5 separate regions of the Homo sapiens genome follow, and all the other regions are linked to region 5. The links are contacts of gene promoters, found by promoter capture Hi-C in blood cells and fetal thymus (Javierre and others, 2016). All regions are on one chromosome and are shown on one strand. The core of a region is centred on a gene start or on the middle of the fragment in contact, and the rest is flanking DNA. Distances in the headings are between cores, read along the strand shown. Region 1 holds the start of PPP1R12C (protein phosphatase 1 regulatory subunit 12C). Region 2 holds the start of ZNF628 (zinc finger protein 628). Region 3 holds the start of ZNF784 (zinc finger protein 784). Region 4 holds the start of ZNF865 (zinc finger protein 865). Region 5 holds the start of VRK3 (VRK serine/threonine kinase 3).

Region 1 (5,854 bases), core at 1,684-4,183, 5.1 Mb after region 5:
AGCCCACCCCAATGCTCCAGGCCTCCTGGGATACCCCGAAGAGTGAGTTTGCCAAGCAGTCACCCCACAGTTGGAGGAGAATCCACCCAAAAGGCAGCCTGGTAGACAGGGCTGGGGTGGCCTCTCGTGGGGTCCAGGCCAAGTAGGTGGCCTGGGGCCTCTGGGGGATGCAGGGGAAGGGGGATGCAGGGGAACGGGGATGCAGGGGAACGGGGCTCAGTCTGAAGAGCAGAGCCAGGAACCCCTGTAGGGAAGGGGCAGGAGAGCCAGGGGCATGAGATGGTGGACGAGGAAGGGGGACAGGGAAGCCTGAGCGCCTCTCCTGGGCTTGCCAAGGACTCAAACCCAGAAGCCCAGAGCAGGGCCTTAGGGAAGCGGGACCCTGCTCTGGGCGGAGGAATATGTCCCAGATAGCACTGGGGACTCTTTAAGGAAAGAAGGATGGAGAAAGAGAAAGGGAGTAGAGGCGGCCACGACCTGGTGAACACCTAGGACGCACCATTCTCACAAAGGGAGTTTTCCACACGGACACCCCCCTCCTCACCACAGCCCTGCCAGGACGGGGCTGGCTACTGGCCTTATCTCACAGGTAAAACTGACGCACGGAGGAACAATATAAATTGGGGACTAGAAAGGTGAAGAGCCAAAGTTAGAACTCAGGACCAACTTATTCTGATTTTGTTTTTCCAAACTGCTTCTCCTCTTGGGAAGTGTAAGGAAGCTGCAGCACCAGGATCAGTGAAACGCACCAGACGGCCGCGTCAGAGCAGCTCAGGTTCTGGGAGAGGGTAGCGCAGGGTGGCCACTGAGAACCGGGCAGGTCACGCATCCCCCCCTTCCCTCCCACCCCCTGCCAAGCTCTCCCTCCCAGGATCCTCTCTGGCTCCATCGTAAGCAAACCTTAGAGGTTCTGGCAAGGAGAGAGATGGCTCCAGGAAATGGGGGTGTGTCACCAGATAAGGAATCTGCCTAACAGGAGGTGGGGGTTAGACCCAATATCAGGAGACTAGGAAGGAGGAGGCCTAAGGATGGGGCTTTTCTGTCACCAATCCTGTCCCTAGTGGCCCCACTGTGGGGTGGAGGGGACAGATAAAAGTACCCAGAACCAGAGCCACATTAACCGGCCCTGGGAATATAAGGTGGTCCCAGCTCGGGGACACAGGATCCCTGGAGGCAGCAAACATGCTGTCCTGAAGTGGACATAGGGGCCCGGGTTGGAGGAAGAAGACTAGCTGAGCTCTCGGACCCCTGGAAGATGCCATGACAGGGGGCTGGAAGAGCTAGCACAGACTAGAGAGGTAAGGGGGGTAGGGGAGCTGCCCAAATGAAAGGAGTGAGAGGTGACCCGAATCCACAGGAGAACGGGGTGTCCAGGCAAAGAAAGCAAGAGGATGGAGAGGTGGCTAAAGCCAGGGAGACGGGGTACTTTGGGGTTGTCCAGAAAAACGGTGATGATGCAGGCCTACAAGAAGGGGAGGCGGGACGCAAGGGAGACATCCGTCGGAGAAGGCCATCCTAAGAAACGAGAGATGGCACAGGCCCCAGAAGGAGAAGGAAAAGGGAACCCAGCGAGTGAAGACGGCATGGGGTTGGGTGAGGGAGGAGAGATGCCCGGAGAGGACCCAGACACGGGGAGGATCCGCTCAGAGGACATCACGTGGTGCAGCGCCGAGAAGGAAGTGCTCCGGAAAGAGCATCCTTGGGCAGCAACACAGCAGAGAGCAAGGGGAAGAGGGAGTGGAGGAAGACGGAACCTGAAGGAGGCGGCAGGGAAGGATCTGGGCCAGCCGTAGAGGTGACCCAGGCCACAAGCTGCAGACAGAAAGCGGCACAGGCCCAGGGGAGAGAATGCAGGTCAGAGAAAGCAGGACCTGCCTGGGAAGGGGAAACAGTGGGCCAGAGGCGGCGCAGAAGCCAGTAGAGCTCAAAGTGGTCCGGACTCAGGAGAGAGACGGCAGCGTTAGAGGGCAGAGTTCCGGCGGCACAGCAAGGGCACTCGGGGGCGAGAGGAGGGCAGCGCAAAGTGACAATGGCCAGGGCCAGGCAGATAGACCAGACTGAGCTATGGGAGCTGGCTCAGGTTCAGGAGAGGGCAGGGCAGGGAAGGAGACAAAGTCCAGGACCGGCTGGAGGGGCTCAACATCGGAAGAGGGGAAGTCGAGGGAGGGATGGTAAGGAGGACTGCATGGGTCAGCACAGGCTGCCAAAGCCAGGGCCAGTTAAAGCGACTCCAATGCGGAAGAGAGTAGGTCGAAGGGGAATGGTAAGGAGGCCTGGGGCAGAGTGGTCAGCACAGAGTGGCTAAGCCCAGGGCCAGTTGAAGCGGCTCCAATTCGGAAGTGGGGTGGTCGAAGGGGAATGGTAAGGGGGACTGGGACGGGGTGTCAGCATAGGGTGGCAAAGCCCAGGGCCAGGAACGACGGGGCGGATCGAGACTGGCAACGGGGAAGGAGGATGCCCCAGGTGGCGCAGCAGAGGGTGGACCTGGCCCCGGGAGACGCCGGGCGGGGGGCGCTGACCTGGTGCAGGGCGCTGATACCGTCGGCGTTGGTGGAGTCCAGCACGGCGCGGGCGGGCGGCGGCGCGGCGGGGTCGAGCTCGGCGCCGGGGCCAGGGTCGGCGGCGCGCAGCATCAGACGCGCCTCGTCCAGGTCGCCGCCCGCACAGGCCGCCAGGAACTCGGCGGCGCGCTCGAAGCGGACGGTGCGGGCGCGGCGCTCTCCGGGGCCAGGCTCGGCGCCCGCCCGCGCCCCCCACTGCCGCAGCTGCTCCCGTCGCCGCTCCCGGGCAGCCGCCGCCGCCGCCCCCGGGCCAGCCGCCGGGCCATCCTCTCCGGACATCGCACCGCCCGCCCGCCCAGCGAGCGAGCGAGCGCCGAGCCCCAACCGCCGCCACCACCCGCCCGCCCGCCCGCCCCGGGGGCCGCCGGGAACTGCCGCTGGCCCCCCACCGCCCCAAGGATCTCCCGGTCCCCGCCCGGCGTGCTGACGTCACGGCGCTGCCCCAGGGTGTGCTGGGCAGGTCGCGGGGAGCGCTGGGAAATGGAGTCCATTAGCAGAAGTGGCCCTTGGCCACTTCCAGGAGTCGCTGTGCCCCGATGCACACTGGGAAGTCCGCAGCTCCGAGGCGCCCAGTGGAAATCGCCAGATGAGGGCCTCCTCCGGGGAATGCTGGGAAATGGAGTCTACAGGCCGGAGGGGTGCCCCACGGCATACTAGGAAGTGTGTAGCACCGGGTAAAGGGGATGAATAGCAGACTGCCCCGGGGCAGTTAGGAATTCGACTGGACAGCCGCGTGGGAGGGAGTGCGGGGAGAGGCAGAGTTGTTTTGTTATTGTTGTTTTATTTTGTTTTCTTTGTTTTGAGACGGAGTCTCGCTCTGTCGCCACGCTGGAGTTCAGTGGCGCGATATCGGCTCGCTGCAACCTCCGCTTCCCAGGTTCAAGCAATTCTGGCTCAGTCCCCAGAGTAGCTGGGATAACAGGCGCGCGCCACCCCGCCCTGCTAATTTTTATATTTTTAGTAGAGACGGGATTTCACCATGTTGGCCATGATGGTCTTGATCTCTTGACCTCATGATCCGCCCGCCTCGGCCTGTAATCCTGCTGGGATGACGAGCGTAAGCCACCATGCCCAGCTGGGTTTTATTTATTTTGGTTTTTTTCCTGACCCCTTAACTAGAAATAAGCTCCACGAGAGCGGGATCTTTTGTCTTCTGTGCACTACTTGTCCTCGGTTCTTAGAACAGAACCTGAGAGAACCTGATCGCAAATATTTTTGGAATGAATGAATGAATGGGTTCACCAGGGCACCATGGGAAACTGAGTCCGCAACCTAGAAGCCATGAAAGACAGTCCACTTCCAAGCTTCCCTGGGTGACCTCGCAGGGCATGCTGGGAAATGAAATTTGCGGTGAAAAGGTCAGGACCACGATCCTAGGGCACGCTGGGAAATGTAGCCCACAGGGCCACACCCCTAAAAGCACAGTGGGGTGCAAGGCAGGGCCCCAAGGCATTTAGGGCTCGGGGCAAGAGAAATCCACACTCCACTCCCTAATGGTAATCCCTGAGCCACACCGAGTAAAGGAACCCAAGACACAGTGTCCACAGGGACAGGGCTCTCAGAGCTTTCACTGGCCCGCGCTTCTCCTGCGCCCACCCGGACCTCCTGGGAACCGCCCAGGCCCTCGCGCGCTCTCAAGGCATGCTGGGATTGGTGGTCCCGGGCAAGGAGTTCCAGCAGGTGGGGGGCGAATCACCTTTCAGCGGGCCCAAGCGATGAGCACACCTTGATCTTCACCTTACGGATCCCGCGCCCAACTCAAGATTGGGAAGGTGGCTGGCACTTTGTGACAGGAAGAGTCCCATAAAAATCATACAGAAAAGGGCCAAAATCGGGACAGAGACTACAGACTGTTTCCCAAGCGCTGTGGGAGTTTCCCACCCACTCTGAAGTCCTTGGGTTTGCGCGGAGACGTAAACTGCGCATCCCACGAGGCCTGTTTCTTTCCCTCTCTCTTTCTCTTTTGTTGTTGTTGTTGCTGCTGCTGTTACGAAAATTTTTGTGGTTTTATTGTATCATGAGGCATTGAAACATCCGGCGACTCAATGTCTAGGCGGTGAGGCAGCCGCTTTCTCCTTCACTTTCTTTGGGTTAAGTAGAGCAACTTGTCAGTAGTTTTGTTTTTTTTTGTTGTTGTTGTTGTTTTTGAGACGGAGGCTTGCTCTGTCGCCCAGGCTGGAGTGCAGTGGCGCGATGTCGGCTCACTGCAAGCTCTGCCTCCCGGGTTCAAGCGATTCTCCTGCCTCAGCCTCCTGAGTAGCTGGGACTACAGGCGTGCTCCACCACGCCCGGCTAATTTTTGTTTTTTAGTAGAGACGGGGTTTCACCATGTTGGCCAGGCTGGTCTCGAATTCCTGACCTCGTGATCCGACTGCCTCGGCCTCCCAAAATGCTGGGATTACAGGCGTGAGCCGCCGCGACCGGCCAGATTTTTTTTTTTTTTAAAGGACAACCTTTTGCATTACTTAAGTCTTTCCAAGGCATGCGCTGGTACAACACAAACTTTTCCCATTACATGCAGCTAGTCTAGTGTCCAGACGTCATGCACAACACCTCCGTGGCATCAGCGCACTGCGCCCACTCCCACTGCGACCCTGCTCATTTGTGCATCATATCTGGAGGAGTGGCAATAGTTCTGGAAAGAGGAGGGAAGAGGAGGCAGCGTGAGGGCCCGGTGGAGAGGAGGTCAGCTGAAGTTGTGCAGAGCAAGCCTGCATATCATTGGTGCAAACCCAAGCATCATTGCATCGCTGATGTTTTGTTTTGTTTGGTTTTGTTTTGTTTTTGAGACGGAGTCTCACTGTGTCGCCCAGGCTGGAGTGCAGTGATGTGATCTCGGCTCACTGCAACCTCCGCCTCCCAGGTTCAAGTGATTCTCCTACCTCAGCCTCCCAAGTAGCTGGGATTACAGGCGTGCTCCACGCCTGGCTAATTTTTGTATTTTTAGTAGAGACAAGGTTTCACCATGTTGGCCAGGCTGGTCTCGATCTCCTGACCTCAAGTGATCCACCCGCCTCAGCTTCCCAAAGTGCTGGGATTACAGGCATGAGCCACCACACCCAGCTGATGTTCTTTAGTAGGAATATCTGGTGGAACCCCAAGATGGGGTCTTCATCCGCCACGAAGCCTGTTTCTATAGAAAGGGATAGTTCTGGTGGCTCTTAGGTGTGGTCCCTGAACCCCACACTTTCCACATACTTACACACCAACCTCCTTCCCCCAGGAAAACAAGAAGTCGGTCTTCAGGGTGTTACCGTGTAGCTCTGGTTCTGTATGTATTCTGTGCCTTTATG
Region 2 (5,165 bases), core at 945-3,444, 5.5 Mb after region 5:
CACAAGGCTGGCCTGAGTTTCCTCCGGTCACTGTCTCCAAGGGGCTGCGAGGCTGTTCTGAAAACAAACCTGTTGAATCCACACCACCTTTTCAGAGACAGCAGGTTGCCCAAGGCCATTGACTTCAAAACCTTTGTTCACCTTCTGGCTGCAAAGTGGGGAATGTTAAGGAGAGTAAGAGCCAGTCTTAGCCATGCCAATCTCTCTTTCTTTTTTTTTGAGAGGGTCTCGCTCTCTTGTCCAGGCTGGAGTGCAGTGGTACAATCTCGGTTCACTGCAGACTTAACCTCCCAGGCTCAAGCGATCCCCTCACCTCAGCTTCCTGAGTAGCTGGGACTACAGGTATGTACACCACAGGAAGCTTATTTTTTGTAGAAATGAGGTCTTGCTGTACTGCCCAGGCTGGGTGTCCCATCCCTTTTGTAATGCCTCTGCGTGGGCAGGTAAATGAGGGGGGCTGAGCTGAGGGCCCCTTTCACTACTGCAGAGACCAAAATGGCCCGAGGCAAGGGGGACGGAAGTGGGATCCGCACCTCTGGGCTTTCCTAGCCTGGCAGCCAGCTGGGCAGTGCATTCCCATCCACGTCTCCACCCTGCATGGCAGCCGCTTTGTGTGGTTAATGCTGACGTGAAAGGAATGTTGGGCTGAGCTGGATGCCAAGGGTTTTTACACGCACGAATGCACGGAGACATCAGCACCAAGACCCTGTAAGGTAGGGGTGGGTCCACACCACCGCAGATCAGCCCTGAGTTCCAGCCTGCTTGTGGACTTGGGAAACGGTGTGGGAGGCTGGAAAAATCCACTCATTCAACAAACAAGTACCGTCTGCTTCTCCATCAGGGCCCATGCTGGTTGTTTGGAATACCTGGGCAGCAAAGACACGAAAGGTCCTCGCTGTCATGGGACATAGATAAATGTCGCTGAGCATGTAAGAGGGACACCACCTAGCACAGGAGGCTTTCCAGTGGGATCTTGCTGGGCAGGGATGGGTTAAGGGTAGAAGGGCCTTCTGGCCTGAGAAACAGCATGCAGAATGGTCTTCAAGCTGAGGGTACTGCCTTTGAGCAGTGGCTCTCAACTAGTGAACATGTGGCAATGTCTGGAGATATTCTTTTTGTTGTTGTTGTTTTTTTTTTTTAACACAGAGTCTCACTCTGTCACCCTGGCTGGAGTGCAGTGGCACGATCTTGGCTCACTGCAACCTCCGACTCCTGGGCTCAAGCGATCCTCTTGCCTCAGCCTCCTGAGTAGCTGGGGTTACAGGTGCCTGCCACCATGCCCGGCTAATTTTTGTATTTTTAGTAGAGACGGGGTTTCACCATGTTGGCCAGGCTGGTCTTGAACTCTTGACCTCAAGTGATCTGCCTGCCTCAGCCTCCCAAAGTGCTGGGATTACAGGTGTGAGCCACCGCGAAAATCTCTATCTGGAGATATTCTGAGCTCTCCTACGGGGTGTGTGGAGCGGGGCTGGGGATGCTACCTGCATCTAGTGAGTGGGGGCCCTAGAGTGTGTAGGACAGTCCCCGCTGCAATGAATCCATCCCAAATGGCACTAGTGCTCTGGTTGAGAAACTGCGTTTAATGACCCTCAGAAAAGCCAGTGTGGCTGGAACGCTGGGTTGGGCGGGGGTTGAGCGTGGAGAGGGGCTTTGGAGCAGCTCGGTCTCCCACTAAAACCCTAGGCCCCACAAGGAGTCTGTGGATTCCAGCCTCCCAGAACAGACCTTTGCCCAGCAGGAACCAGGTTTCTGCAGCGTCTGGATGAGCGTGCACGAAGCACACGCCCGAAAATCCTGAGCACGTGGCTCTACCGAGGGACTGGAAGCGCTCCAGGCCTCGTTTTCCCGCTGGAGCGATTACACCCTGGGGGCGGGGCCCGCTTCACGGGAGGGATTTTTGTACAACCGTGGTGCATGGAAGGATTTTTTTGCAGATGAGAGGGAATCGGGATTAATAAGGGGAACTTGCGACCCCGCGTCTCGAGCTGGCCGTCCCTGGCCTTGGGCTCACCGGGGCCTCGGCCCCCAAGACCTGACAACTGGAGTCCGCGACCACAACTGGGAGAACTACAACTCCCAGGATGCCGCGCACCGCCTGCGCCCGAGCTCGACGAGGCCTCGCACAGCCAATGGGAGGGTCCGGGGGCGGGAACTCGGAGTACGTGCGTTGTGACGCACCGACGGCGACGTCGGGGTTTGTGTGCGCGAGAGGCCGCCGATAAAGGTTGGGTGCCTCGCGCCGGGGGCCGTTGGGAGGGAGTGCGCCCCTGCCCCCCCTCCCCGGTCCCCACAGCTGCACCGCCGCTGCCGGGGCCCCACCTTCCCGTCGACCCCCGCGGGAAGGTCCTGGGGCTGCCACCCTCGTTCCCCCGATTGGGGCCGCAGGTGAGAGACCGGAGGGGGTGGGGGTGGGGGGAGGGACCGGAGGGCGGAGAAGTTGCAGGGGGTGGGGCGGGGGGGGGGGCGTGAAACCGGAAGGGGTACCTTAAAGGGGAGTCACTATTTCACCTCCGACATTTGCCAGCTAGGCCGGGTCCGCCCTCTTAAAGGGCAAGGGGCCACATTGAGAGGGCGGGTCAGGCTTTGCATTTTTACAGAAGCTTTCTGACTTAAAACAATGTTTTTCCCCTAAAAGGCGGTTATCTCATTAAAGGCCAGTGACCGTTTCCCAGACATTGAAGCAAAAACTCCTGAGTCCTGGTTGCTTCAAAGCGATCCCTGGTTTAGCTCAACAAAAGTGGAGATGGGGCTCCAGTGGCAGCATCCCCTTAAAGGGGAGGTCCAGCCTGCTGAACGGGTGTGGCGCGGCCTTTTAAAGGGGATGTCTTCTTGTTAAATGGGACCCCGCTCTTTCAGGGCACGGATATCTCTTTTAAGGAGATGCTGGGGCTTCTCAAAGGCACGTGCAGCTTCTTAGCATCAGTAGGTTTGTTTTTTTTTTTTTTTTTTTTTTCTGGAGACGGAGTCTTGCTCCGTTGCCCAGGCTGGAGTGCAGTGGCGCGATCTAACCTGCTTACATATTAAAGGGTACACTTATCTTTTAAAAAGGAAGTTCTTGGCTAGGCGCGGTGGCTCACGCCTGTAATCCCAGCACTTTGGGAGGCCGAGGCGGGCGGATCACTTGAGGCCAGGAGTTCAAGACCAGCCCAGGCAATATGGTGAAACCCCGTCTCTACTAAAAATACAAAAATTAGCCGGGCGCGGTGGCGTGCACCTGTAATCCCAGCTACTCGGGAGGCTGAGGCAGGAGAATCGCTTGAAGCCGGGAGGCGAAGGTTGCAGTGAGCCGAGATCGCGCCACTGCACTCCAGCCTCGGTGACAGAGTGAGACCCTGTCTCCAAAAAAAAACAAAAAAAACACACAAGTTCTTGTAGCTTGTCCGACGGGGATGCCTAGCCTTCATTCATTTAAAATTTGTTTACTGCGCACACACTCTGCCAGACATTATTGTAGGCACTGGGATGGCATACAACAGTGAACCAGACAGAAGCCCCTATTTTCCCGGCGTTGACATTCTAGCATGGGGAGGCAGAATAAAACAGAAAGCACACTGGTTATATAGTAGCGGTTCTCATCTGGGGGCAACGGTGCTCCCCAGGGGCGACACTGCGGCTAAGACTCGGAGGTGCAGGAGTGAGCTTTGTGGACAGCGTAGAGGAGGGCTTCATAGGCCAATGTCAGGCGTCCAGTGGGTCGAGGCCGGGGGCCAGGGCTGCTGCTCGACACCCTGCAGTGCACAGGACAGCCCTCAACAGAGAATGGTCTGGCCCCACATCTCAGCACTGCTGAGGCTGAGAATCCTGGTACATTAGAAGGTGATAATTGCTGCGGGGGAAAAATAAGGCAGGAAAAGGGAATGGGGAGTTGGAAGGGATTGTAGATTTAAATAGGGCTGTCAGGGAAGCTCTTGCAGAGGGGATTTCAGCGAAGACTCGGAGGTGAAAGAGCGAGTGGCGGGCACAGGTGGAAAGGAAGGGGGTGGTTCTAGGCAGGTGCCCTGAGGTGGGAGCAGGCGTGCCTGGCCATCCTGGGTGACCAGAGTGACCAGGGGCAGGTGGCCAGTGAGGATAGCAGTAGGACAAGTCAGGGAGGGGACAGGCTGCAGGAAGTCGGCAGGCTCGAAGACCAGAACTGTGGCAGATTTCTGAGTACAGGAATGCAATGCCCAGCCCTCCCTGTTGACGGGTTCGCTTCAGTTGCTGTATTGGGAACAGACGGGTGGGCAGGGCACGGGTGGAAACACGGCGATCCGTGGGGAGGCTGTTGCAGCTGCCTGGGAGAGAGACAGTGGTGCCTCAGATCAAGGTGGAGGCCTGTGAGAAGTGGCCAGATCTTGGATATGTTCCGCCTGGAAGGGGAATCTGCGGACAGGGGCAATCGAGAGAGAGGAGGCGAGGAGCCTTTGGCCTGAGGAAGAAGACGGCTGCCATTTTCAGAGATGGAGAAGCTATGGGTGGAGTAGAAGTTGGGGGCGAGGAGCAGAAGACCATAGTTAGATTTTGGGCATGTTAAGTTGGAGGTGTCTAATGAGGCATCCAGGTGGAACAGTCTAGCAGGTGGTGTGGCATTCAGAGGGTAGGTCTTATAGAGCTGGAGGCCTGGAGTCATTGTTCATAGACAGTGGAGTCCTGAGAGTGGGTGGGGGCTCCCAGGGAGAGAGGACAGACAGAGGACAAAGTGGTGCCGGAGCCCCGGGCGCTCCCACATCTAGAGGTCAGGGAGGTGAGAAGGAACCAAGCTGGGGACTGAGATGGGGTGACAGGTGACGGAGGGCAGTGAGGGAGCGAGGTATCCCGGAGGCCAGGGGGAGGCGGGCCACGGACCCAGTGACAAGTGGGCCATTGCGGGCCACGCGCCGCCCAGGCCATGGAGTGGGGGCACCCGCGTGGGACTGAAGGGGTTTGCGCTGGGAAAGAGCGGGCTGACACTTGAGCTGCTCTGCTGTGAAGGAATGGAGAAACGAGTCTGCAGCTGGACAGGGAAGTGGAGTGAAGAGCTTTTTGGTTTTTAAAGATGGGAGACATAGATTGTTGGTTCTGCAGATGGGAACGTCCAGGAGAGGAGGAAAAGTGGAGGATGTGGGTGGGAAGGCACAGTCCACGGGCACTGGGTCAGGCCTGTGGGGAAGGATTGCGCAGGGTTTCTGGACCTCGCACTGCTGACA
Region 3 (5,712 bases), core at 1,622-4,121, 5.6 Mb after region 5:
TCCCCGGGTCGGCCTCGTACCTCCGCCTTAACTAACCCATGTCCCTGGTCTGCAGCCTACTGGTCGGCCTCCACCTTCACCTTCGCGGTCTCCCCCCGCCCCTCCTCCGCAGGGTCCCCTACCCCACACCCGCTCCCCGACCCCTCAGCCGCCGACGAGCCCAGCTGGCCTCCAGAGTCTCCCAGCCCCGGCCCCGGCCCGTGGAAGTGGGTGCGCTGGTGCTTGCGGAAGTTGGAGGAGTTGTTGAAGGTGCGGTCGCAGAGCGTGCAGCGGAACGGGCGCTCGCCAGTGTGGATGCGGGCGTGGCCGCTAAGCACCGAGGACTGGGTGAAGCCCTTGCCGCAGATGCCGCAATGGTATGGCCGCTCGCCAGTGTGCACGCGCTCGTGGTCTCGCATGTCTGAGGAGCGGCGGAAGGGCTTGGCGCAGAACCTGCAGGCAAAAGGCTTCCCCACCGCTGCGCCCGCCGCCGCCGCCGCCATCACCACCTCCGCCCTCTCCGGGGCCACCCCGGGCCTCTGTTCTGCAACGGCCGCTGTGTCCGGAGGCCTCCGAGAGGTGCCCGGCTCCACCCCGTGCCGGTGCTGGTGCCGGAGCAGGGGCGCCAAGGCCTTGAAGGCGCGGGGGCAGAGCGCGCAGCGGTAGGGCCGCTCCCCCGTGTGCAAGCTGTAGTGCGCGCGCAGGCTGGCGGGGCCCGGGCAGCTGTGGCCGCACACGTGGCACCGGCTCGGGTCCCCACCCTGCCCGCCTCCCTCGGCCCCAGCCAAGTGGCCATGTTCGTGGAACAGCAGCTCGGAAACCAGCCGGAAGGCAGCAGGGCACAAGGCACAGTGGAAAGAACCTGGCTCCGGGGGCTCAGGGACCAGCGTGGTGTCCGTCACCTTCACCACCTGGATCTCGATGAGGTCACTCGGGGGTGTGCCAGGCCGGCAGTCATCAGGCACCAGGACCTGGGCAAGAGGAGAAGAAAGAGGAGCCTGTGGAACCTGCCTCAGGACCGCCCCAGCACGCCCCAATTATTAAAGCTTGGGCTCCTCTGTTATTTTCAGACAGGGCCTCACTCTGTTGCCCTGGCGCGATCGTGGCTCATTGCAACCTTGACCTCCTGGGCTCAAGCGATCCTCCCACTTCATCTCCCTGAGTAGCTGGGATTACAGGCATGCACCACCACATCCAGCTAGTTAAAAAAAAATTATTTCTGGCTGGGCACGGTGGCTCAGGCCTGTAATACCAGCACATTGGGAGGCTGAGGTAGGCAGATCACCTGAGGTCAGGAGTTCGAAACCAGCCTGGCCAACATGGCAAATACCGTTTCTACTAAAAATGCAAAAATTAGCCAGGTGTTGTGGCTGCTGCCTGTAATCCCAGCTACTCGGGAGACTAAGACACGAGAATCGCTTGAACCCAGGAGGTGGAGGTTGCAGTGAGATGTGATCATGCCACTGCCCTCCAGCTCAGGCGACAGAACAAGACTCCATCTTAGACAGCAAAACAAACAAAAATTATTATTATTATTTTTAATGTAGAGGGAGTCCCACTATGTTGCCCAGGCTGGTCTCCAACTACTGGGCTCAAGAGATCCTTCTGGCTCTGCCTCCTAAAGTGCTGGGATTGCAGGCGTGAGCCGCCGCGCCCGGCCCATCCTCCAGGATTCTGTTGTATCCTCATCAACATTTCCTCTCCTGTCCAAAATATATCATGGATCCCACCTTTTGTCCTCCACCCTAGTTAAAGCCCCATCACTTGGCGCCTCCAAAATTGAAAAACCCAAGGGCATCTCTGTTCCTATTTCTGCTGGCTTGTAACCCACCTCCCAGGAATAGCCTGAAGGTCTTTTGAAAATGTAAATCAGATCAAGTCATTTTTCGCACTCAAAACCCTCCAGTGGCTCCAAATGACTTATCCCAAATCGTCACTATAATATCTGTGGCGATGTAGCTCCACTTATCTCTCTGACCCCAGCTTAAACATAAGCCGGCACCCAGCTGACTTCTCTCGTCTAAATTTAGCTGCCCCACCCCTACTCTTGGCTCAATTTATAGAAATTGGCTCAATTTTTATTTCCTTTATAGAACATATCACAGTAACTCTCCTTTATTGTCTCTCTCCTCTCAAGAGACTGCAGGCTCCAAAAGAACACAACCCTTGTCTGTCTTGGTCACTTCTCTATTTACAGAGCCGAAGTAGGAGCTCAGTAAATGTTTGTTGAATGAATGAATGTCCTCAATTAGTCTAATTCTGAGTGGGGTAACGTGGAGGAAGTTCCAAAGTCACCTAGACCACCCACTTCTACCCCCAAATTCTCCCTTGGGCATTCGAGAAGCATCACTAAGACCCTTGAAGAATTATCCCCTACCCCGACATAGGTGCTCCAATCATAATCCCCCACGTTTTTCAGGGTCACCTTCCCAACCTTCTACCCTAGAATTAGCCCTAGAATTTATGAGGCCCCGCCCCTTACAAGGCTCCACCCAAATTATGCAAATTATCCCTGGTAAGCCCCCTTCCCTGGACCCAAACCCGTCCCACAAGACAACACCGTCCTCAGACTCCGCCCCCATCCAGGCCCCGCCCACCACCCATAGGTCCCTCCCCCACCCCGCCCACCATGACATAGTCTCCTCCCCTGCCCCGCCCCTCGCGAAACCACAAGAAGCCCCACCCCCAGGGCCATAGCACTAAATACCTCCCTCGCCCACCCCCTCATAGGCCACGCCCCGGACCCGCCCCCCACACTACGACCTCCTCCCACCTCGAGCCCCACGCCCAGGCCCCTTCCTTGCCCGCACCAGGTCCAGTGGCTCCTGGGATCGCGACTCCGGAGTCGGTGAGCTCCGACTCTGGGCCTCTGGGCGCGCAGCGGCCATCTTGTGCCCAAGCCCCGCCCCCAAGGCCAATGTTCGCTCTGAAAGGGGGTGGGGCTCGAACTGGCGTAAGAGCTACTGCGCAGGCGCAGTGCGGGGCTGCGAGGGGGCGTGGTGCAGCAGGGGGCGTGGCGGGGCGGGGCGTGGCGGCTGAGCCCGGGAGAATGTGAGTTGTTCCCTCTCTAATTACCTGTCTGTCCCTCCGAGGGTACGCTCTGTGTGGCGCTAGGATGCCTGTAACACCCTGGGAACAAATCCGAACGTTCCTTCTAAACCAACGCAGGCCGACTCGAGGCTCTGGCTGTCAGGGGAACCTCAGCAGAACTGAAGAAGCTTTGCTTTGTTTCCACGGTAAACGTTTTTGTGATTACCTCTGCACTGCTCATGACAACGTAATGACGCCAAGTTTATAAACGTCGGTGTAGGCCGGGTGCGGTGGCTCATGCCTGTATTCTCAGCTACTCGGGAGGCTGAGGTGGGAGGATCGCTTGAGGCCGGGAGGTCGAGGCTGCAGTGAGCCATGATCTCGCCACTGCATGCAGCCTGAGTGACAGAGACTCTGTCAAAAAAAAAAAAAAAAAAGGCAGTGTGGAGAAAAATATTCAGTAAACAGCAACACAGGTGGTCCTGGGAGGACGCAAAAACCCGCAAGCTGATGTTATGTTTGGGAGGAAAGAGCTCAAAAACGCGGGGTTTTCAGCAGCATCAAGGACGGGGCTCTTCTTAGCTGCCCCGTTTAGTCATTCTGGTGGTATCACCTTGGATAAGTCACTACACTTCTCTGGACCATTTCTCTTTCTTTTGTGTAGCACTGTAGAAGCATTGTGACAAACCACTGAGAAGAGACATGGAAGAGTTTGGAAACATCTTTAAATAGTTTTCTTGAAAGGGCAGGATAGGAGATACTTAAACATGATCCTAAGCATGATCATTTCATTCATAAATATATATGAAATTATATTTTGTGATATGTTGGTATAAAATAAAGATAAACACCACTTAGGCTGAATTATCTCCTCCTCCTCCTTTCTTCTTCTTTTATAGAGATGGGGATCTTGCTGTCTTGCCTTGCCCAGGCTGGTCTTGAACTCCTAGCCTTAAGCGATCCTTCTGCCTTGGTCTTCCAAAGCTATATTTCCCTTCTTTTCTTTTGATTTTAAAATAATTTTTTTTTTTTTGAGATGGAGTCTCACTCTGTCGCCCAGGCTGGAGTGCAGTGGCATGATCATGGCTCACTGCAACCTCTGCCTCCCGGGCTCAAGCGATTCTCCTGCCTCAGCCTCTTGAGTAGCTGGGATTACAGGTGCCCGCCACCATGCCCGGCTAATTTTTGTATTTTTAGTATATACAGGGTCTCACCATGTTGGCCAGGCTGGTCTCGAACTCCTGACCTCAGGTGATCCGCCCACCTCGGCCTCCCAAAGTGCTGGGATTACAGGTGTGAGCCACTGCGCCCGGCCTAAAATAAATTTTTAAATGTTGTGGGTCCCTAAGAGTATCATGGGCCCTAGGCACTGTATCTACTACTGTGTCTAATGCTTAAGTCAGCTCTTTCTGTCCAGGTTTCCTAATTTGCAAAATGAGGGTGATAATAAAACCTACTTTACACAGTTGCTATGATGATTAAAGAAGTCATTATATATAAAGTATTTTGGACAATGTATGGCACACAGCAGGTGCTATGAGTTAGCTATAATAATTACTACCATTTGGCACTCCCACTAGCAATAAATAGGGACCTTTGTTGCTTAACATTCCTATCAATATCTGATACTCAAACTTTAAAATGTTCGCTAATCTCTTGGGTGTGAAATAATTTCATTTCTTTTCTTTTTTTTGAGAAACAGCCCAGGCTGGAGTGCAGTGGCGTGATCTCAGCTCACTGCAACCTCCACCTCCTTGGTTCAAACAAATTTCCTGCCTCAGCTTCCCAAGTAGCTGGGACTACAGGTGTGACACGTCATTACGTTATCGCAAGTGGTGCAGAGGTAACCACAAAAACCTTTACTGTGGAAACAAAGCAAAGCCTCTTCAGTTCCGCTGAGGTCTTCCACTGACTGCTAGAGCCTCGAGTCGGCCTGCGTTGGTTTAGAAGGAACGTTCGGATTTGTTCCCAGGGTGTTACAGCCCAGCTGATTTTTGTATTTTTGTTTTGTTTTGTTTTTTGTTTTTAGTAGAGACAGGGTTTCACCATATGTTGGCCAGGCAGGTCTCAAACTCCTGACCTCAGCTGATCGGCCCGCCTCGGCCTCCCAAAGTGCTGGGATTACAGGCATGAGCCACTGCGCCTGGTCTATTTCTTATTGAGAAGCTCTTTATTAAAAGAGATCATTCATAGCACCCAGAACTCATCCTCCAGTTTCCCTTTTTTGAGAGCTGGAAGTATGTCATCTCTGTATCCCCTCTGTACATCCCTATAGAGAAGGCATGTATATGGCTCAGTGAGTGTTTGGTGAATGAATGAGTGAGAAATTGAATTCATGCAGATAGAAGAACTTTGTACCAGAGCTTAAGGCTATTGAGTATTTTTTCCCTTTTTTTTCCTCCCCACCCCCACTAAAGCTATTAAATATTTGCAGAGGAGAGCACTGTTTAGTGGAATTACCATAAGCTTTCAAATCAGGCAAACCTGGGTCCAGATCCGTTTATCTGCTTGCTGTGCAACTCTGGGCAAGCAATGTCTCCTCTAAGTGTCTAGCTGACATCTACAAAGTGGGCACCATAATGTCATTTGGCAGGGTTGTAGTTAGAATGCCACTGATTGAGAATGCCAAAGGTCTGTGTGATGCCTGGAACCAACTGGTGCTCAATAAATGTGGGTTCTGCCTGGGCTTGGTATTCTCTACTA
Region 4 (5,508 bases), core at 2,099-4,598, 5.6 Mb after region 5:
CATCCATGCCGGCCTGCGGCCCTTCCGCTGCCCGCTGTGCCCCCGCCGCTTCCGCGAGGCGGGCGAGCTGGCGCACCACCACCGCGTGCACTCGGGGGAGCGCCCGTACCAGTGCCCCATCTGCCGGCTGCGCTTTACAGAGGCCAACACGCTCCGGCGCCATGCGAAGCGCAAGCACCCGGAGGCCATGGGGGTACCCCTGTGTGCACCAGATCCAGGGTCTGAACCGCCGTGGGACGAGGAGGGCATCCCGGCCACAGCAGGGGCCGAGGAGGAGGAGGAGACAGAGGGGAAAGGGGAGCCGGCCTGACCCACACCCCCGGCCATCGCTCCCTGGGCCAGGTTTAGAGCAGGGAGTTTGGCTGGTGCTGGGCCTGAGCCAGGGGGCCGGGACACCCTTGTTTCCGGTGGTCTTCCCGTTGTGGGAGCAGGTGGAGGGTGGAGACCTAAACTTTGGGGTCCAGCTGCCTTCAGCCCCCCTCCCCCAGACTAACAGACCCTTGGAGGCAGGGGCTGTGGAAATAAATCTCTGCCTGCTGGCTGCCTGTGTGTGTTCCGTGCCGGGATGCCATCCTCTCCTGCCTTCAAATGTTCTTCCTCGGCTACACCGTCCTGTCGGGAGTGCGGGGAATTGGAGAGGACCCCACTTCCTGTGCCTCATGAGCGTGGTGCTCGCCAAAGAATGGTTTTGGGGGGAACCTTGGCCCCTTCCCCATCTCCATCAGACCCCAAAGTCCATGGGTCCCTCGGAGTCCGCGGGGAATTGGTTCCACGAACCTCGCAGATACCAAGATCTGGGCATACACAAGTCCAGCAGTGGGCCCTGCGGAACCCGCGGATGTAGGAAAATCCGCCCTTCGTATACTGTATGTTCCACCGGTGTTTGGGTGAAAAAACGTCCGCCTCTCAATGGACCTGCAGTTCAAACCCCTGTTGTTCAAGGGTCAGCTGTATTCCCAGTACACATCCAATCTAACTAAAAACATTGAACCTTCCATGCAGACCTGACTGTAGGTCCGACCGCCTCTCTCCTAGCCAATTCCCAGAAATTCTGCAGCCACTTTGCCCCACCTCCTTGTCCTGAGGACCTACTGTTTGGAAGGAAAAATTAAGACAAAGGTATGAGCAGGACGGTCTGGGTAAGGTTTAGAGATAAGGGGTGTGGATTGGGGCGGGGCTAAGGAGCGAGGGGTGGGGCTGAGATTGCGGGGCAGTTAGGCTGGGACCTGGGGCGGGGGCTTAGAAGAGGGTTAGAGTTGGGTGGGGCTTAAAGAGGTTTAGGGGTTGGTCCGCAGAAAGTGAGAGCGGTTTAAAGAGGATGGATAGAGTTGATCTAATAGAGAGTAGGGGCTTGGAGCTGGGGAAGAACAGGAGGAACTGCGTGAGAGTGGGGCAAGGAGGACGGATAATTTTTTTTTTGAGACAGGGTCTCGCTCTGTCATCCAGGCTGGAGTGCAGTGGCCCTATCACCGCTCACTGCAGCCTCGACCTGCCAGGCTCAAGCGACCCTCCTGCTTCAGCCTCCGGAGTAGCTGAGACTACAGACGGGCGCCAGCATATTTAGCTAATTTTTTTTTTTTGAGACGGAGTCTTGCTGTCGTCCAGGCTGGAGTGCAGTGGGGCAATCTGGCTCACTGCAACCTCTGCCTCCCGGGTTCAAGCAGTTCTCTCCCTCAGCCTCCCGAGTAGCTGGAATTACAGGCGCCCGCCACCACGCCTGGCTAATTTTTGTAATTTTAGTAGAGACGGGGTTTCACCATCTTGGCCAGGCTGGTCTTGACCTCCTGACCTCGTGATCCACCCGCCTCGGCCTCCCAAAGTGCTGGGATTACAGGCGTGAGCCACCGCGTCCAGCCTAATTTTTGTATTTTTTTTTTTTGTAGAGACGGGGTTTTGCCATATTGCCCAGGCTGGTCTTGAACTCCTGTGCTCAAGCAATCCGCCTGCCTTGGCCTCCCAAAGTGCTGGGATTACAGGCGTGAGCCACCACGCCAGGCCAAGAGAACGGATTTTAAGGTGAGGGGCGGAGCTTATAATAATTCAGCTCTGAGGTGGGCGTGGTTCAGGGCCGAGGGCCGGGGGCCGGGGCTTAAAGGAGAAACTCTGAGGGAACAGGGTATTGGAGGTGGGACTTAGAAGGTGCTGATGGGGGCGCACGACTGCTATGGAGGCGATGGGGAGAGAAGGAAGTACTTAATCTAAGGGAAGTTCCTGGGAGAGTGGAAGCTTAGCAGGAGGGGCTGAATGGGTCTGGGTTTGGCTGTTTGGGATGGGGCTGAGTTGGGAGCCGGGATTATAGCGATTATATGAGCGGGCAGTGTCAAGTGTGGTAAATCCATGGCTCTTGACCAGCATGCAGCAGAATCAGAGTATTTCAAAACACGGATCCCTAGACCCCCAACCCCAGGGCTTCTATTCCGCATGGTCTGAGCAGGCAGCCGGATGCTGCTGGCCTCCCAACTATCCTTGACAACCACCGATTTAAAAGAATGCTTTAGAGGTGGGAGGCACTCAAAAGTCACGAGGTGCAACTTAAATGCTATGGGGTGAAGGGGCGGGGCTTGGATGGAGGGGGCGGGGCCTAGGGAGGGGTGAAGTTCCAGAGAGTGGGAGCTTGGAGAGGGGGAAGAACAGGAGAAACTGCATGAGGGCGAGGGGACGAAGACAGACTTTGAGGCAGTAGGGGGCTTATAATCACGCTGTGAGATGGGCGTGGTTCAGGGCCAGGGGGCGGGGCTTCAGTGTGAGACCCGAGCCGGAGGTGTGGCTTAACCGGACGCCCAGAGCGTGTCGCGGGGTTCCCGTAGAAGAGGCGGGCATTCAAAGCGCAGGCGCACCTGGCTCAGTTCGCCCACCGGAATCGGCCCGGGCTTTCACTGCTCGCGTCCCCGAGTCAGTGCGCAAGCGCATTTCCCCCCTCCTGGTCCCCGCCACCGCCTCCTCTTTCCGATCCTCCACGCCGGCGCCTCGGGAACGGGCGCGACTTCCGCTTCCGGGCGGGCGGGCAGGCGGGCGGTGCGGGGCTGCCGGGGAGGGGGGAGGGGGCGGCACTTCCGGTCGGGCCCTCGGGTCTCCCCGGAGCGGCGGCGCCTCCTCCGCCTCCTCGGCCTCCTCCCGGCGGAGACCCCGGCGCCGGTGAGTGACGGGGTGCGTGGCCCGGGGGCCCGGGTGCAGCGGGGGCGGGGGGCCCCGCCCTGGCCCGCTGTGGTCCCCAGAACGTCCCCCAACCCCTAGCAAGTCAGTGCAGCTCCCGCCGGGCCCTTGCCAAGGGACCCCCAATCACTGCTCCCCGGTAGGATCACTGCAGATAGCTCCCCCATGAACGCCCCCAGCTAGGATGGCTGCCAAAGCGCTTTCATTCGTGGCGATCCCCTAAACGGCTGCCAGGGCCCCCAAATGATACCTCCTCGTAGGATCCCCTCCACATAGCGCTCCCCGTCATTGCTTCCTCCAGGTCAGCCTCCAGATGCCATCAGCATTGCCCCTCCCCATGTAGGGCAGCTGCTCGTGAACCCTCTTATTAGTATCCTCTATATAATTCTCCCCAGAGTGTTTCCTTAGTGCCTTGCAGCAGAACTGTCCCCCGTTATCTCTGTCCATACAGCAACAGCCCCCAATGGCCCTGACCACCTCCCTCCCCAGCAGAACGCCCCTTCGTGGGTGTGAAAATACTTTCTATTCTGGTCAGCACCAAGAATGCCTTTTTCCCTTCTGCAGGTCCTCCAGTGATTCCCCTTAAGAATGCCCCTTTCAAAGCCACCCCCCCATCGCAGCGGCACAGCTCCCTCTAGAGTTCCTTCACACTCACATCCTCTCCCGCCTCAGGTAGAAATATCCGCCTGCTTAGCTCCAGGCTCCCATGACATACTCCCGTACCTCCTCTCACCCCACCCTCATCGCGGTCAGCCCGTCTTCATTACTTCTGCCACAGAACAGTGTCCCGCAGTGAGGCGGTGAAGCCTTCCTTCCCAGAATGTGCCTCATCCTCTTCCTATGGCGTGAACAACTGTTGCCCTGACCTGCAGCTTCTCACCCAGCTCTCAGGCTATCGTCCTGGACTCCCTAGGGAAGACCCTGGACTTCACTAGGGTGTGACTTCTTTTCTCGTAGGCATTCCTTCTGCGTTGAACGCATATTCACTATTCTAGCTGAAGGGTATAATATACAGCCACGAAGGGGGTCGATACACACAGTGTTCTCACTGTGCGGGGTCTCACAGTCTAGTTGATCAGACACGAGTCGACAAAGATACACGGGGTTTTGTGGGTTCTCTGAGAGCCTGATGAACTACTTTAGAGGTGAAAGCTGAATTACAAGTGGCAGCTTAGCCATGCAAAGATCTGGGTGAGCAGGCAGCAAGAACAACAAGTGCAAAGGCCCTGAAGTGGCGGTGAGCACGGTGAGTGGAGGAGCAGCAGGGGAGGCCGGTGAGGGTGGAGTGGAAGATTTGAAGGCAAGAACAAGAGGAAGGAAGCTTTGGTCTCAAAAGGCTTTGGAGGTGAGGGCACTGGGATAAATTATCTAGCCTTTGTCAGCTCTACCGAGCCCAGAATGTTCTTCATTCATTCATACGTTCATTCGTAAACACTGGTTGAACAACTGTTTAATGAGCACCTACTTTACATTGGGGGTACAACAGAGAACAAAATAGACAAGAATCCCTGTCCTCATGGAGTGGATATGCTAGTTGAGGGGGCAGATGATTAAAAGACAAAATACAGGCCAGGCGAGGTGGCTCATGCCTGTAATCCCAGCAGTTGGGAAGGCCAAAGTGGGAGGATCGCTGGAGGCCAGGAGTTCAAGACCAACCTCGGCAACATAGTGAGACCCTGTCTTTACAGGAAAAAAAAAAAAAAAAAAAAAAAGCTGGGTGTGGTTGGTGGGCACCTGTAGTCCCCAGCTATTCAGGAGGCTGAGGTGGGAGGGCTGCTTGAGCCCAGGAGTTCGAGGCTGCAGTGAAAAAAAATAAAAACAAAAACCAAGAGTATATGTGCGTGTTCAGAATATCACGGGATAAAGAGATAGACCTGGGGGGCTGTGGTTCAGGATGGCCTCCCCCAGGATTTTCCTATGTCTTGTCATCTTGTCCCTCCCAAAAGCCACACACCAAAAAGTTATACAAGAGTAAAAATTCCCCTTCTCCTGGACAACTGTGGCCCACTTGGGGGCTGCTCTTAACAGCGCCCTAACCCCAGGAGCGAAGTGATTGGGAGGATGAGCCCTGGATTCCACTAGGGTTCACAGCTTTGAGCAAATCACTCCCTCCTTTCCTAGCCTCATTCATTCACTTCTTCAAACAAAAATGTATCAAGCCAGGAACTGTTGTAGGTCCTGGGGATGGAACAGTGAGCAAGAGATAAAAATCCTTGCCTTCAGGAAGCCGATCATCTGGATGGGGAGACCAACAAAATCAAGGCAAAGAAGTAGATTATGTGAGGTTATAAATGATGCTGAGCAGTAAGGAGAGAAATGAAGCAGGGTTAGGGAGATGAGGATGTGGGCCTGGGT
Region 5 (5,392 bases), core at 2,252-4,751:
ACCTTCCCAATCACCCTTTTCAAGGTAAGAATGATTTCCCCTTTGGGGAGATGAGAAGCAGAGGCTCAGAGAGCAAATGACTTGCCCAGGGCCACAAACCTCTTAAGCGGCGAGCCAGACACATGATTTTGTTTAATCTTTCCCTCCACTCTATGAGGTAGGGATGATTATCCCATCTTTGAAACCTACAAAATGATGCTCAAAGGGTGACAATTCTCCTTCCCCCAGACCTGACTCCACTCACCTAGAAAACAGTGGGGACGCAGCTGAAATCCAGAACCCAAAAGCCCATGTTCTTCACCTGGTGCCAATTTATACAACGAAAACGCAAAACCGGACTGGGTTCTTGGGGCAGCAGGTCAGAACATTCTTGTAGATTTAAATCTGGAAGCTGATGTTGGGTGTGGAACCACGGCAAGAGAGTCTTTTAACCATGTGCCACCCCCGGTTCTGACACCGTCACCAGCCTGGTCTAGGCCACCATCTCTCCCTTGTGCTACTGCAGCAGCCTCCTAACTAGACTTTCGGCTTCTACGCTTGTCCCTACAATCTATTTTCAACCCAGTAGCTTGACGGATCCACTTAAAATCTAAGTCAGACCCTGTCTGTGTCCCTGCCCTGGCCCATATGGTGGGTCGGACACGGTGGCTCACGCCTGTGATCCCAGCACTTTGGGAGGCCGAGGTGGGCGGATCACGTGAGGTTAGGAGTTCCAGACCAGCCTGGACAACATGGTGAAACCCCGTCTCTACTAAAAAAGTACAAAAAAAAAAATCAGCCGGGCGTGGTGGTGGGCACCCGTAATCCCAGCTACTTGGGAGGCTGAGGCGCAAGAGTCGCTTGAACCTGGGAGGCAGAGGTTGCAATGAGCCAAGATTGCACCGCTGCACTCCAGCCTGGGCAACAGAGCAAGACTCAGTCTCATAAATAAACAAATAAATAAATAAAATGTAAGTCAGACCCTGTCCCTCCTCTACTCAAAACCGTATGGTGGATTTCATTTTAGACAGAATAAATGCTGAAATTCCTACCATGGCCCAGGAGCCCCCTGTATGATCTGCCACTTCCCTGTTCCCTCTCTGACCTCTCCCACCTCTCCCCTTGCTCACGCTGAGTCAGCCACAACAGCTTCGGTGCTTTTCCCCAATCGTGACAAGAACGTTTCTTCCCCAAGACCTTTGCACCTGCTCTCCCATCTGCCTGGAACGCTGTCCCCCTAAGAGTGCACACAGTTAACTTCCTCATCACATTCTTTAGCTCTCTGTTCAAATGTCACCTTCTCAGAGACCTTCTTGGACACGATTTTACTGTGTTTTTTCTTTTCTTTTTTTTGAGATGGAGTTTGGCTCTTTTCGCCCAGGCTGGAGTGCAATGGCACGATCTCGGCTTACTGCAAACTCTGCCTCCCGAGTTCAAGTGATTCTCCTGCCTCAGCCTCCCATGTAGTTGGGATTACAGATGCGTGTCACCACGCCTGGCTAATTTTATATTTTTAGTAGAGATGGGGTTTCACCATGTTGGCCAGGCTGGTCTTAAACTCCTGACCTCAGGTGATCCCCCTCAGCCTCCCAAAGTCCTGGGATTACAGGCTCGAGCCACCGTGCCTGGCCCTGGACACCATTTTACTAATAGCATGTTTTATCCTCCTTACCTTGCTTTATTTTTCTTCACAGTGCTTGTCACTACCTGACATACTCTGACTTACTAGAATGTAAGCTTCATGATGGCGGGGACTTTTCCCTGCCTTGTTTGCCACAGTGTGCCCAGAGCCTCAAACAGGCCTGGCACAGAGCAAATGCTGGGTCTACGTCTGCTGAGTGAATAAATCATTGTCTCCTTTGCAAAAGAAAATGTGCCAAGAAGGTGGGTGGGGGGGGTCCCCAGCTGTGTCAGTACACATTCATCTCTCAGGCAAATCTAGACATCCAGCCAGAGACTCAAAGCTCAGGGCCGGAATTATCTAGCTGGATGGTCCCTAAAAAAGACGTGCCACTTAGAAGCAGATCAGTACAGGGGTTAAGAGGATAAACTTGGGAAATAATCTGCCTGGGTTTGGATCTTGCTTCTGCCATGTATTGCATGATGGACAGAGTTTTGCTATGTCACCCAGGTTGGAGAGCAGTGGCACGACCTCAGCTCACTTGCAACCTCCGCTTCCTGGGTTCAAGCGATTCTCCCTGCCTCAACCTCCCGAGTAGCTGGGATTACAGGCGCATGCCACCATGCCCGGCTAATTTTTTTATTTTTAGTAGAGATGGGGTTTCACCATGTTGGCCAGGCTGGTCTCGAACTCCTGAACCCAGGTGATCCGCCCACCTCGGTCTCCTAAAGTGCTGGGACTACAGGCGGGAGCCACCGTGCCCAGCCAAATTTTTTGGATTTTAGAACCTATTACATATTACAACACCGGCGAGATCCAGGGGCAACTCTCCATAAGTATATGATTTGCACAACAAAATCTTTAAAAATTCTAAATAGTCACACATCAGTTCAGAGTGGGTATTGCCAGCAAACAAGTTCAAAGCCAGGTGAGGTTGGCCTGCCAAGTAAGTTGCAAAACAGAGAAAAAGACCTTTCAGTTTTCAGAACGTTTTGGATTTTAAAGTTATAGATAAGGGACTGCAGACCTGTAAATATTCTTTAACATTTCTTTTTTAGTGTCTGGCATCCCCAACCACCCTGAGAATGTGAATTAGCTGGGCAGGATTTTTGTTTTAGACACTGCTATAATAACCTGGGCTTGAACAGTGCCTATTAGACTAGCACCGTTCAAACCCAGGTTATAGTAGTGTAATATCGGTTGCACGGAGCCTTCCATATAGTAAACGCTCAATAAAATTGGATGTGCTGAAGTCACCTATGCAATGGCCAGGTCAGGACTTGAAACCCTAAGACTCCAACCCTCAGGCCAGTCTTTATCTTAATTTATTTGACTTATTCAACAAATGTTTAGGGAACAGCTGCTATGCGTCAACTACTGTATAGTGTTCCTCCTAGAAAGTTCAGGAAACAGCACAGCAAAAAGGCTAAAAGTCAGACCCCACCTCAGCGCAGGTGGGGCGATTGCCTAGGCGACGACAGAGCCTCCCTTCGGCCGCACCTCCATAGAAACCACGGGATGACTTAGACGCCAAGTTTCACAGCGGAGGAGCTGTCGAACTTCCCACAAGTTCCGCCCATCTCCGCCTTAGCCATGCCCAACACGGAGCCCAAGGTGGCTTGGGAAGCTCAAGAGGAGGCCAGTGAACCCCGCGACCCGGAGCCGCTCTCATTCCGAACCCCGACAGCAGGGGCCTCCGCCTCCCACAAACGGTCGTGCTGACGTCACGGACGCCCCGGCCGAGCTGCGGCTAGGGGGTCGGGGGACGTCCCCTCGTTCGCCTCGCTTCCCCTCACCTCTGTACTTGGGGACTGGGGTGGGATTCTGGGCTTCTGCAGCCTGACCCTCGGATCCTCCGCAGTTACCCGGACTCACCTTCTCAGTTGCCCAGCGAAAACTTCCGCTGGGCGGAGAGCGCTGCGCGCGCATCCTGAATCTGAGGCGCCCGCGCAGGCGCCGCTGACTTCCTGACGGCCCCTGGGCTTCGCCTGCCTGGGAACTCCGTTTCCCAGATGCCTCCGCGGCAGGCCCGCCCTCTGATTCCAGACGGAATGGGGATTATTCCCTCATTGCTCATCCCCCTCCCCTCCGTTCTAGCCGCTTTGGAACGCCTTCTGGTTCTACTGCGCATGTGTCAGTGTCAGACCAATCGGAATGCACCGTGAGGTACCTCTCCACCAATCAGAGGTCACATTACCTAAACTTCTGCCTCAACTCCGCCCCTTACTTCCGCTTGTTTTCTCAGAAACCCGTCACAACGCGTTTCCATGGCAACCTACCGCTTGCTCTTCGGAAAAGGTTAACACTCCCTGACTTCTAGTAAAGGCAAGAAGCTAATTAGATGATTCTTTAACAAGGTAAAAATCTGGACTACAAACTGATGCCGCCTGGTCCTGATTCTCTTTCTACTCTACTCCCACAGTGCTAAGGCTGAAGAAGCAGGAGGAGATGGGAAGGCGAAAGAAGTCGCCCGCACAGCCCTCTGGGAAATAGAGTCCTGGCGCTGCCGCGGAGGATCCTGGGTGCAGCCGCTCAGAGAAGCTTCTCGCGCACAGGAAGTCGCTGCGAGGAGGCGCGTGTGCGGGGAGTTGAATCTCCCGCTCCCTTGAGGCTGGGGTTGCGTCTGTTGACGCGGCCGACTACAATCCCGAGGTACGGAGACGCTGGGGCTGAGGGACTTGCGGGCTCGGTCCTTCCTGAGAGGTGACGGAATGCAAGTGGGGGCGACTTCGGCAAAGGGTGCGTCGCCTTGGGCGGCGGTTGTCAGGGTGAAGGTGTGAACCGTCTTTCACAGTCTGTTATGAAAACCGCTCAAGGTCTGGGCACGGTAGATCACGCCTGTAATCCCAGCACTTTGGGAAGCCTTGGCGGGGGGGATCACTTACAGCCAGGAGTTCCTCGAACCCCCAGTCTCTACTAAAAATACAAAAATTAGTTGAGCGTGGTGGCGGGGGCCTGTAATCCCAGCTACTCAGGAGGCTGAGGCAGGAGAATCGCTTGAACCCAGGAGCTGGAGGTTGCAGTGAGCCGAGATCGCGCCATTGCACTCCAGCCTGGGTGACAGAGCGAGACTACATCTTAAAAAAAAAAAAAAAAAAAGAAAGGAAGAAAACCACCTTGGGAGGCTGAGGTGGGCGGATCGCTTGAGCCCAGGATTTCGAGGCTAGCCTGGGCCAGATGGTGAAGCCCTGTCTCCACAAAAGAAGAAAAAAATAGAAAAATTAGCCGGGCGTGGTGGTGCGCCCCTGTATTCCTAGCTAATTGGGAGGCCGAGGTGGGAGGATTGCTTGAACCCAGGAGGCAGAGGTTGCAGTGAGCTGAGAAAGAAAAGAAAAGAAAAGAAAACTGCTAAAGGGGTTTCCAGGCCTCCCTGATGGCCCTGAGAGGAGTGGTTCTGTTTTATTTTGGTTTTGGTTGGGGAAGGAGGGGAATGAGTTACCTGAAGTTGGCAAATTTAGGCAGAATCTTGCTGGACGATGGATGGGAGTTCTTCGGGAAGTTGAAGTACTTAACATTTACAGTATTTGAGTGCTTTCTGTGTGCCAGGCGCCCTGCTGGAGTTGCATTTCCTCTTCTGATCCCCGCAGCAGCACTGAGACATAAGTGCAGGTCCCCTTGGCACCAAGGCAATCTCGGGAATCAGAATTTTTCAGATTTTAGAAAGCTAATAGGGTGCATATTTTATAATTAGGCAGCACCCCCCCACACCCCGAGGAATCTGGGCCAGTTTTTGGTCATAAAATGTTTCTGTGGGGCAAGGTGTGAATATTCACACTTATGAGAACATTAAGA

What was found. The method cuts DNA at HindIII sites, captures the fragments that hold promoters and counts their contacts. A CHiCAGO score of 5 or more calls a contact.
Region 1: a contact is called between the fragment with the promoter of PPP1R12C here and the fragment with the promoter of VRK3 in region 5, in 2 of 17 cell types (naive CD4 T cells and total CD8 T cells). The highest score is 8.1, in naive CD4 T cells.
Region 2: the fragment with the promoter of ZNF628 here is called in contact with the fragment with the promoter of VRK3 in region 5 in 5 of 17 cell types (naive CD8 T cells, non-activated CD4 T cells, total CD4 T cells and 2 more); the score reaches 8.2 in naive CD8 T cells.
Region 3: the fragment with the promoter of ZNF784 here is called in contact with the fragment with the promoter of VRK3 in region 5 in 4 of 17 cell types (total CD8 T cells, total CD4 T cells, naive CD4 T cells and 1 more); the score reaches 6.5 in total CD8 T cells.
Region 4: a fragment that was not itself captured here is called in contact with the fragment with the promoter of VRK3 in region 5 in 1 of 17 cell types (fetal thymus); the score reaches 8.1 in fetal thymus.

The regions. Positions count from the first base shown.
Region 1 is chr19:55,114,704-55,120,557 of GRCh38, forward strand. It overlaps PPP1R12C (protein phosphatase 1 regulatory subunit 12C), which reads right to left and starts at 2,934. Exons shown (of 22, transcript NM_017607.4): 1 at 2,520-2,934. The coding sequence starts at 2,840. RefSeq lists enhancers at 1,330-2,165, 1,520-1,569, 1,970-2,049, 3,010-3,289 and silencers at 2,480-2,579, 2,600-2,679, 2,870-2,949. The HindIII fragment of the contact is 6,736 bases long and covers 1-3,863 here.
Region 2 is chr19:55,474,423-55,479,587 of GRCh38, forward strand. ZNF628 (zinc finger protein 628) reads left to right here and starts at 2,195. Exons shown (of 3, transcript NM_033113.3): 1 at 2,195-2,385. RefSeq lists silencers at 2,261-2,460, 2,593-2,916. The HindIII fragment of the contact is 2,239 bases long and covers 360-2,598 here.
Region 3 is chr19:55,621,695-55,627,406 of GRCh38, forward strand. ZNF784 (zinc finger protein 784) reads right to left here and starts at 2,872. Exons shown (of 2, transcript NM_203374.2): 1 at 2,790-2,872; 2 at 1-950. The coding sequence starts at 2,867. The coding sequence ends at 57. RefSeq lists enhancers at 2,853-3,352, 3,103-3,252 and silencers at 2,853-2,902, 2,973-3,032. The HindIII fragment of the contact is 2,172 bases long and covers 1,024-3,195 here.
Region 4 is chr19:55,602,598-55,608,105 of GRCh38, forward strand. ZNF865 (zinc finger protein 865) reads left to right here and starts at 3,050. Exons shown (of 2, transcript NM_001195605.2): 1 at 3,050-3,135. It overlaps ZNF524 (zinc finger protein 524), which reads left to right. Exons shown (of 2, transcript NM_153219.4): 2 at 1-541. The coding sequence ends at 310. RefSeq lists enhancers at 18-568, 1,672-2,223, 2,224-2,775 and a silencer at 2,819-3,318. The HindIII fragment of the contact is 2,248 bases long and covers 2,225-4,472 here.
Region 5 is chr19:50,021,871-50,027,262 of GRCh38, forward strand. It overlaps VRK3 (VRK serine/threonine kinase 3), which reads right to left and starts at 3,502. Exons shown (of 15, transcript NM_016440.4): 1 at 3,397-3,502. It overlaps ZNF473 (zinc finger protein 473), which reads left to right and starts at 4,135. Exons shown (of 5, transcript NM_015428.4): 1 at 4,135-4,252. RefSeq lists enhancers at 2,808-3,309, 3,359-3,438, 3,779-3,828, 4,239-4,288. The HindIII fragment of the contact is 2,425 bases long and covers 1,715-4,139 here.